Regions from separate parts of the Homo sapiens genome. Here region 2 is linked to region 1. Evidence: promoter capture Hi-C in 16 types of primary human blood cells and fetal thymus (Javierre and others, 2016). All regions are on one chromosome and are shown on one strand. The core of a region is centred on a gene start or on the middle of the fragment in contact, and the rest is flanking DNA. Distances in the headings are between cores, read along the strand shown.

The links. The method cuts DNA at HindIII sites, captures the fragments that hold promoters and counts their contacts. A CHiCAGO score of 5 or more calls a contact.
Region 2: a fragment that was not itself captured here is called in contact with the fragment with the promoter of MSANTD3 in region 1 in 1 of 17 cell types (total B cells); the score reaches 8.5 in total B cells.

The regions. Positions count from the first base shown.
Region 1 is chr9:100,425,408-100,428,892 of GRCh38, reverse strand. It overlaps MSANTD3 (Myb/SANT DNA binding domain containing 3), which reads right to left and starts at 1,750. Exons shown (of 3, transcript NM_080655.3): 1 at 1,500-1,750. RefSeq lists silencers at 1,254-1,373, 1,414-1,643, 1,684-1,913. The HindIII fragment of the contact is 12,044 bases long and covers 1-3,485 here.
Region 2 is chr9:99,153,664-99,157,148 of GRCh38, reverse strand. It overlaps TGFBR1 (transforming growth factor beta receptor 1), which reads right to left. Exons shown (of 9, transcript NM_004612.4): 9 at 2,957-3,485. Among named protein-coding and RNA genes, the nearest start is that of TGFBR1, 50 kb to the right of the region's middle. The HindIII fragment of the contact is 2,096 bases long and covers 914-3,009 here.

The DNA of each region.
Region 1 (3,485 bases), core at 501-3,000:
TTCTCCCCATTCTAAACCCAAAATAATCTCCTCAGGCCCATTACTTCTCTAACCCAGTGAATGGTGTTGAAAATGCACTCTTCCATTATATCAGTGAGACCTTTGTATTTTAAGCATCTCATCAACCATTAGGGCTGGCAAGCATCCCCATGCCCTGAAACACAAGAATTTTGTGAGAAGGGATAATGGCATTTTAGGAGGCCCAATCACCTGACCCTCCATCAATCTGAATATTTTTGGCGGCCTGGGAGTAAAAAGAGACAACCTATAACATCCCTCCCCACCCCCTGCCCCAGCAGCCTTTGTCCCCTAGCCCGGGTCTCTACGGGAGGGATGAAATCTGGCCCAGCAATGCTGCAGGGGAGGGATGGTGAACCCTGGTGCCTTCCTCTACATCTTCCTCCAGGACTTCAGAATCCTTCTTCTCCCCCTTGTCCATCCCATGTCTCTCTCTGGCCCTGGACTCCCACAGCCATCCTCAATCCTAACTCAGAAACTATGTTTTTTAATTAATATTCAGCAATTTCCTTGGAATACAATCATCTGCTCTGACATGCTGAAAGGCACACTCTCTGGCCCTGATATTATCCTACCTCCAGTTTTAAATGTATGACAAATATATCCCTGCATCCTATAACTACTCTCCTCGATACTGCAGGAACGTCTGTAATGTTAAATGTTATCACGCCTAAGAAATACCCAACCTCCTGAATCGGAATAGGGAGACTAAATTCTTCACTGTTTCGTACTCCTAAATAAAGATTATTCATGCAATTTACAGTAACTACCTCACAGCGCCAGGGTGATGATTCAATGATAATTCATGCCAACTGTTTAGTACCTAGGGCCTGGTACATACAGAGTGCTCAAAATTTAGCTGTTATCATTTACATACATTATCTTTCACAATAGTACCTGAGGGTAGATATTATACCACGCCCCCCCGACCCCCGCCTCTAATTTACAGAAACAGTAGCCCCGGCTCGGAGTAAAGGAGCTTTCCCAAGGTCAGTCAAGCAAGGATGTGATGCTCGGCCTTCATCCTGCAAGTGAGGGATCCCTCCCGTTACACTCTGGACGGGCGGGGCACTGGAGGTCTTAAAGGAGACAAGTATGGAAAAGCGCCGAGCACAGTGATCAGCACACAGTGGGGACGCCGGGATGGGAAGACCGCGGTACTGCAGGTCACCTGGATTCCCCCCGAGCAGCTCCCCGAGCCCGGGAGTCCAAAGCCCACCCCGCTCCCAGCCGTGGGCGCGCCACTGAGTACCCCAGAGGCCCGCGCCCCGGGGCTTTGTAGGCAGCAGGCCGGCCCTACTCACCGAGTCCCATCGCGGCGCGCAGAGGCGGCCGCCCGGCGCCCAGCCTGCAAGGCCGGGGTCGCAGCGGCTCGGCCCGAAAACCCTCCATGCCGGCCCCCGGCCCCCTCTACGCCCGGCCCGCGCCCCCCACCCCCGCCCCCGCCCGGCTGCGGCCCGCCCGGAAGGGGAGCCTCCTACCTGCAGCGGCGGCGCGGCAGCCGCGGCGACCGGGGGAGGGGCCGGCGAGGCGCGAGGGCGGGCGGCCTGGGCTCCTCTCGCAAGCAGGGCGGCCGGGAGGGCCGCGGGCTCCCGAACGCCGGGCGGCGGCGGCGGCGGCGGCGCGCCCCCGGCCGGCCAGGCCCCGCCGCGCGCGCCGCGGCCACAAAGCCCGGACGCCGCCGCCCCCTCGCGGACCGCCCGCCGCCTGCCGGTCCGTCGGCGCCGCCGAGGAGGGCGGGAGCGCGGCCCCGCGCCAGTCCCCACTTCCCCGAGCTGCGGCCGCCGGCCTCCAGGGGACTGGGGCGGGGCGCGGGGTGCCCCCCCGCCCACCTGCCCGTCCGCACCGACCCCGCTCCTGACATCCTCGGGCTGACGTCCTCGTGCTGATTTAGTTGCCTTTTTTCCCCACCTTTGCAGAGGAGCTCCTGAAGCGGCCCGAAAAACTGTTTTATTTCTATGAACAACAAAAGAATACATTTGTCACACGGGATTTGGCGGCCATGAACACGAGTTAGTTCAGTCCAGGTCCCCCGACTGAAATAGGCCCTTTTCTTTTAGGACTCCTTGATACTTGGGACAGCGAATCCCCCTATGCTGAGTTTATCAGAACTTCTGTTAATTTGTGGAACGTGCCTCCCCCAGGAGAGCGACTGTGCTCACTGGAGCCCAGGACCTGTCTCGGACACTGTGCTGACTCATTTGGAATTAATGCGTGTGTAAATGCATGCACAACAGCTCAAACTGTCGGGACAAGCCACCCTTTGCTCCTCCCGCAAACAGAGTGGCTGGATGTTTCTTTTGCCCTGGATCCATTGGGAAGACTCCAACCCCAGAGAAAGGCAGAGAAGGCTTTTTAACTTTTTTTTTTTTTGAGGTGAAATTCGCATAACATAAACCACTTAAAAGCGAACGATTTGGTGGCATTTATTACATTCATAATGTTGAGCAACCACTTCTATCTAGTTCTGAAACATCCATACTCCATTAAGCAGTAATTCCCCAGTCCCTCCTTCCTCCAGACCCTGGCAACGACTCAGCTATTTTCTATCTCTGTGAGTTTACTTTTTTCTGGGTATTTCATATAAATGCAACCATACAATATGCGGCCTTTTGTGTCGTTTCTTTGACTTAGCCTGTATTTAAGATTCATCCATGTTGAGGCGTGGATCAGTACTTCATTCCTTTTTATGGCTGATTAATATCCCATTGTATGTGTATATTATAATTTGTTTATTCATTCATCCCTTGATAGATATTTGGGTTACTTCCACCTTTTGGCTATTGTGAATAGTGCTGCTCTGAACATGCCTGTACACATATTTGAGTACCTGTTCCCAGTTCTTTTGGATACATACCTAGGAGTGGACTTTCTGGGTCATAGGGTAATTCTATGTTTAACTTTTCCAGGAACTGCCAAAAAGTTTTCCACAGCAGCTGAATGAATCATTTTACATTCCCATCACCAATGTTTGAGGGTTCCAAGTTTCCACAACCTTGTCAACACTTGCAATTTTCCGTTTTTGTGTTTTAATTCCTTGAACATTTTTGAGACTATTGCTTGCCCTCCCAACTCCCACTATCCATAGCCCTAAAGTAAAAACTGATCTAGGTTTTCACTATGTACAAAGAATCACGCAACCCTTTCTTTCTTCCCTCAAAAAACAATCCAGGGCAGAAGCACCAATAAAAATAAAGACCCTAAACTAAGAGCTATACTGGTCCTCATTCTTTTTCTTTTCTTTTTTTTTTTTTTTTTTTGAGACAGAGTCTGCTGGAGTGCAATGGTGCAATCTTGGCTCACTGCAACCTCCGCTTCCCGGGTTCAAGCAATTCTCCTGCCTCAGCCTCCCAAGTAGCTGGGACTATAGGCATGTGCCACCACTCCTGGATAATTTTTGTAATTTTAGTAGAGACAGGATTTCGCCATGTTGGCCAGGCTGGTCTCGAACTCCTGACCTCAAGTGA
Region 2 (3,485 bases), core at 712-3,211, 1.3 Mb after region 1:
TGTTGCTGTATATGACTGACTATCCTTGTGTCAATAAACAGTCTTGATTATTGTTGCTTTACAGTAAGTTTTGAAACTGGGTAAGGCAATTCCTCCAATTTTGTGCATTTCAAAATCATTTAGGATCTTTTAGACATTTTGCATTTCCATGTTAAGTTTTAGGATCAGCTTGTGAATTTAAAGAAAAACCTTTCTGGAATATCGCTAGGGATTGAGTTGAATCTATAGAACAATTTGGGGAGAATTGCCATCATAACACTGTTGAATTCTCTAATCCATGAGCATGGAAGTTCTCATTTAGATCCTTTGATTTCTCTCGGCAATATTTTTTCAATTAAATAAATGTATTATTATATTCTTTTTGACGCTATTCTGAGTTTACTTTTGAAGGTATCGTTCATTGCTAATATAATGTCAATTTTTAATATTGATTGTGTATCCTACAACCTTGCTTGCTGAATTAGGTCTTGTAGCTTCAAAAAAAAAATTTTTTCCGGTGGATTCTTTAGAATCTGACAGGTAATATTTCTTAATAAAGACAGTTTTACTTTTTTCCCCAACCTAATGTCTTTCTAGTCTTTTTGTAGGGAGAGGGAACAGGGACTGGACAGAACCTCCATGACAACATTGAATAGAAATGATGAAAGGATGTTCTCGACTTGTTTCTGATTTAAGGAGAAAAGTATTCTTTCACCATCAAGTATGTTGGCTGTGAGTTTTTTATCGATGCCCTTCACTAGGTTGAGGAAGTTGCCTTCTATTTCTAGTTTGCTGAGTTTTCATCACGAATGGGTGCTGAATTCTGTCAAATATTCTTTCCTTTGGCTATTTAGTTATTATAATAATATGGGTTTTATTGTTTCTTCTATTAGTATGGTATAATACATTGATTTTTTTGATGTTAAATGAAGCTTACAGTCCTAGGATATGGCCCATTTGGTCCTGGTGTATAAATCCTTTTATCTGTTGTTGGATTCAGTTTCCTAATATTGTGTTTTAAGTATTTTTGCAGCTATCCCCACTGGCTTTAATACTTCTAAAGTATAGGTATTTAAAAGTGTAAATTTCCCTTTAAACAGTGCATTAGCTGTACACTATAAATTTTGACATGCTGTACTTTTTCATTTGTTTAAAATTTTCTAACTTCCTTTGTGACTTCTTCAATACATGGGTTTTTTAGAAATGTGTGATTCAATTTCCGAATATTTTGGGATTTGCAATTTTCTGTTGACTTCTAATTTCAACATGGTTGGAGAACATACTTCCTACTATTTCATCCCTTTTAATTCACTGAGACTTCTTTTATGAAATAGCATGTGGTTTCCCCTGGAGAATGTTCCATGTGCACTAGCAAAGAGTGTGCATTCTGTTCGTGGTGGGTGGTGGTAAATGTTTGGACAATTTGGCTGACAGCATTCTTTTGTATGCCTGTGATTCTCAATTGAGTCATTCTATCAATTATTGTAGGTGTCAAAATCTCCAAATATTATTAAATTGTCCATTTCTCCTCTCAATTCTATCATTTTTCTCGTTATTTTGGGGTCCTGTTAGGTGCATATACATATGTTAACTGTTATATCTGATATATTGGCTTTTTAAAATATCCTATATTTCCAGTAATATTTGTCTTAAAGCCCACTGTACTGATATAGACATTCCAGCTCTCTTACGATTACTGTTTGCATGTTATATTTTTCCATACTTTCACTTTACAGCTATTGGTCTTTGAATCTACAGTGTGCCTCTGTGAACACCATATAGTTTTTTCTTTTTAAATCCATCCTGACCATCTCTACCTTTTAACTATTTAGTCCATTCACATTTAATGAAATTATTGGCATGATTACTTATGGCTGCCATTTTGCTATTTGTTTTCCAAATGTCTATCATTTTGCTTCTTTCTTTCTGCCTTTTGTGTTAAATATTTCTTGGTGTACCATTTTGTTTTTTTTAATTTATTTTTAAATTGATGCTTCAGTGGTTACTCCAGGCTCTACAGCATGCATTTCAATTTATTACAATCATCTTCAAATTAGGACTAATTAATTCTAATAAGATACATCTTTGTCCCAATAGAGTTCCATTTCCTACCCACTCCTTTGTTATTAATATACACTGCACCTATATTGTAAACCCAACAGTATGGTGATGTAATTACTATATAGTCTTATGCTACTGAAAGATAACTTACATTTATTTTGGTAGGCAAATTATTTCCCCAAGATTCCCATTCTCTAGTTATTTAATCAAATACTAATCTTGGTACTGCAGTGAATGCACTTTGCAGGTAAAACTGAGGTTACTAAATAGGGTAATTATCCTGGATTATCCAGATGGCCCCCTGAGTAATCACATGGCCCCTTAAAAGCAGAAGAGGGAAGCAGAAGCATTAGAGAGATGCAGTGGAAGAGACAGTGGAGAGATGAGGCAGAAGGGGAGATCCGAGAAAAGTGCAAGGATGATTCAACCCATTGCTGCTGGTTTTGATGATGGAGGAGGGAACCACGAGCCAAAGAATTTGAGTGGCTTCTAGAAACTGACAACCACCCCTGGCCAACCTGTCTTACAACCATATGGAGCTGAATTCTGCCAACAACCTCAATGAGCTTGGAAGCCTATTCATCCGAGCCTCCAGAAAAGAATGTTGCCCAGCCAATGCCTTCATTTTGACCTTTTAAAATATGGAGCAGAGAACCATCTGAGCTATGCCTAGACTTCTGAATTATGGAATTCTGAGATCATAAATAGGTGTTGCTTTAAGCCAGGGCATTTGTAGTAATTTATGGCAGCTATACAATCATACAGTCTTTGCTAGTTGTACATATATCCACCATTTCTGGTGCTCTTCATTTCATCCTGTGGATTCAGGTTACCATCTGGTGTCATTTATTTTCTGTGTGAAGGATTTAGTATTTCTTGTAAGGCAGACGTCCATAGGCAACAAATTGTCTTAGTATTTGTCTGGGAATGTCTTTAATTTCACTTTTTTTCCAACTTTCAACAAAAGCTTCATATCCTGGTGATGTCTTTGTTATAAGGAAAAAAAAAAATCCCTAAATCCAGCCTTCAAATTGAAGTAACTATCTTTAATGTGAGAGCAATCCTATTCACAAAGCCCCTCCCCAGAGTCAATCAAGGGTTTGGGGACCACATCTCATCATTTTTCCAGTTCTCTTGTAAGCCAAGTTTTCACCCCCAGGAGACTAACAAATGTGCTGACCCAAAGGCAACAGAGATCACCTGTAGACAGGTCCATCATGCCCCAATGGAAGACCCACACCCCTAAGCATGTGGAGAAAAGCCCCCAGGCACAGAGACACACCTGCAGACAGGAGGGCACTCCCCGAACACGCTATAATATTGTAACTTGCACTAGGCAGGGTTAGAAAACTTCTAAAGACTCTTGTAACTCAAAGGTTCTAGTTGCCATCTACAGCAACTACATATGGCATGACTCATTCCAACGTATACACTTTATTTTAAAA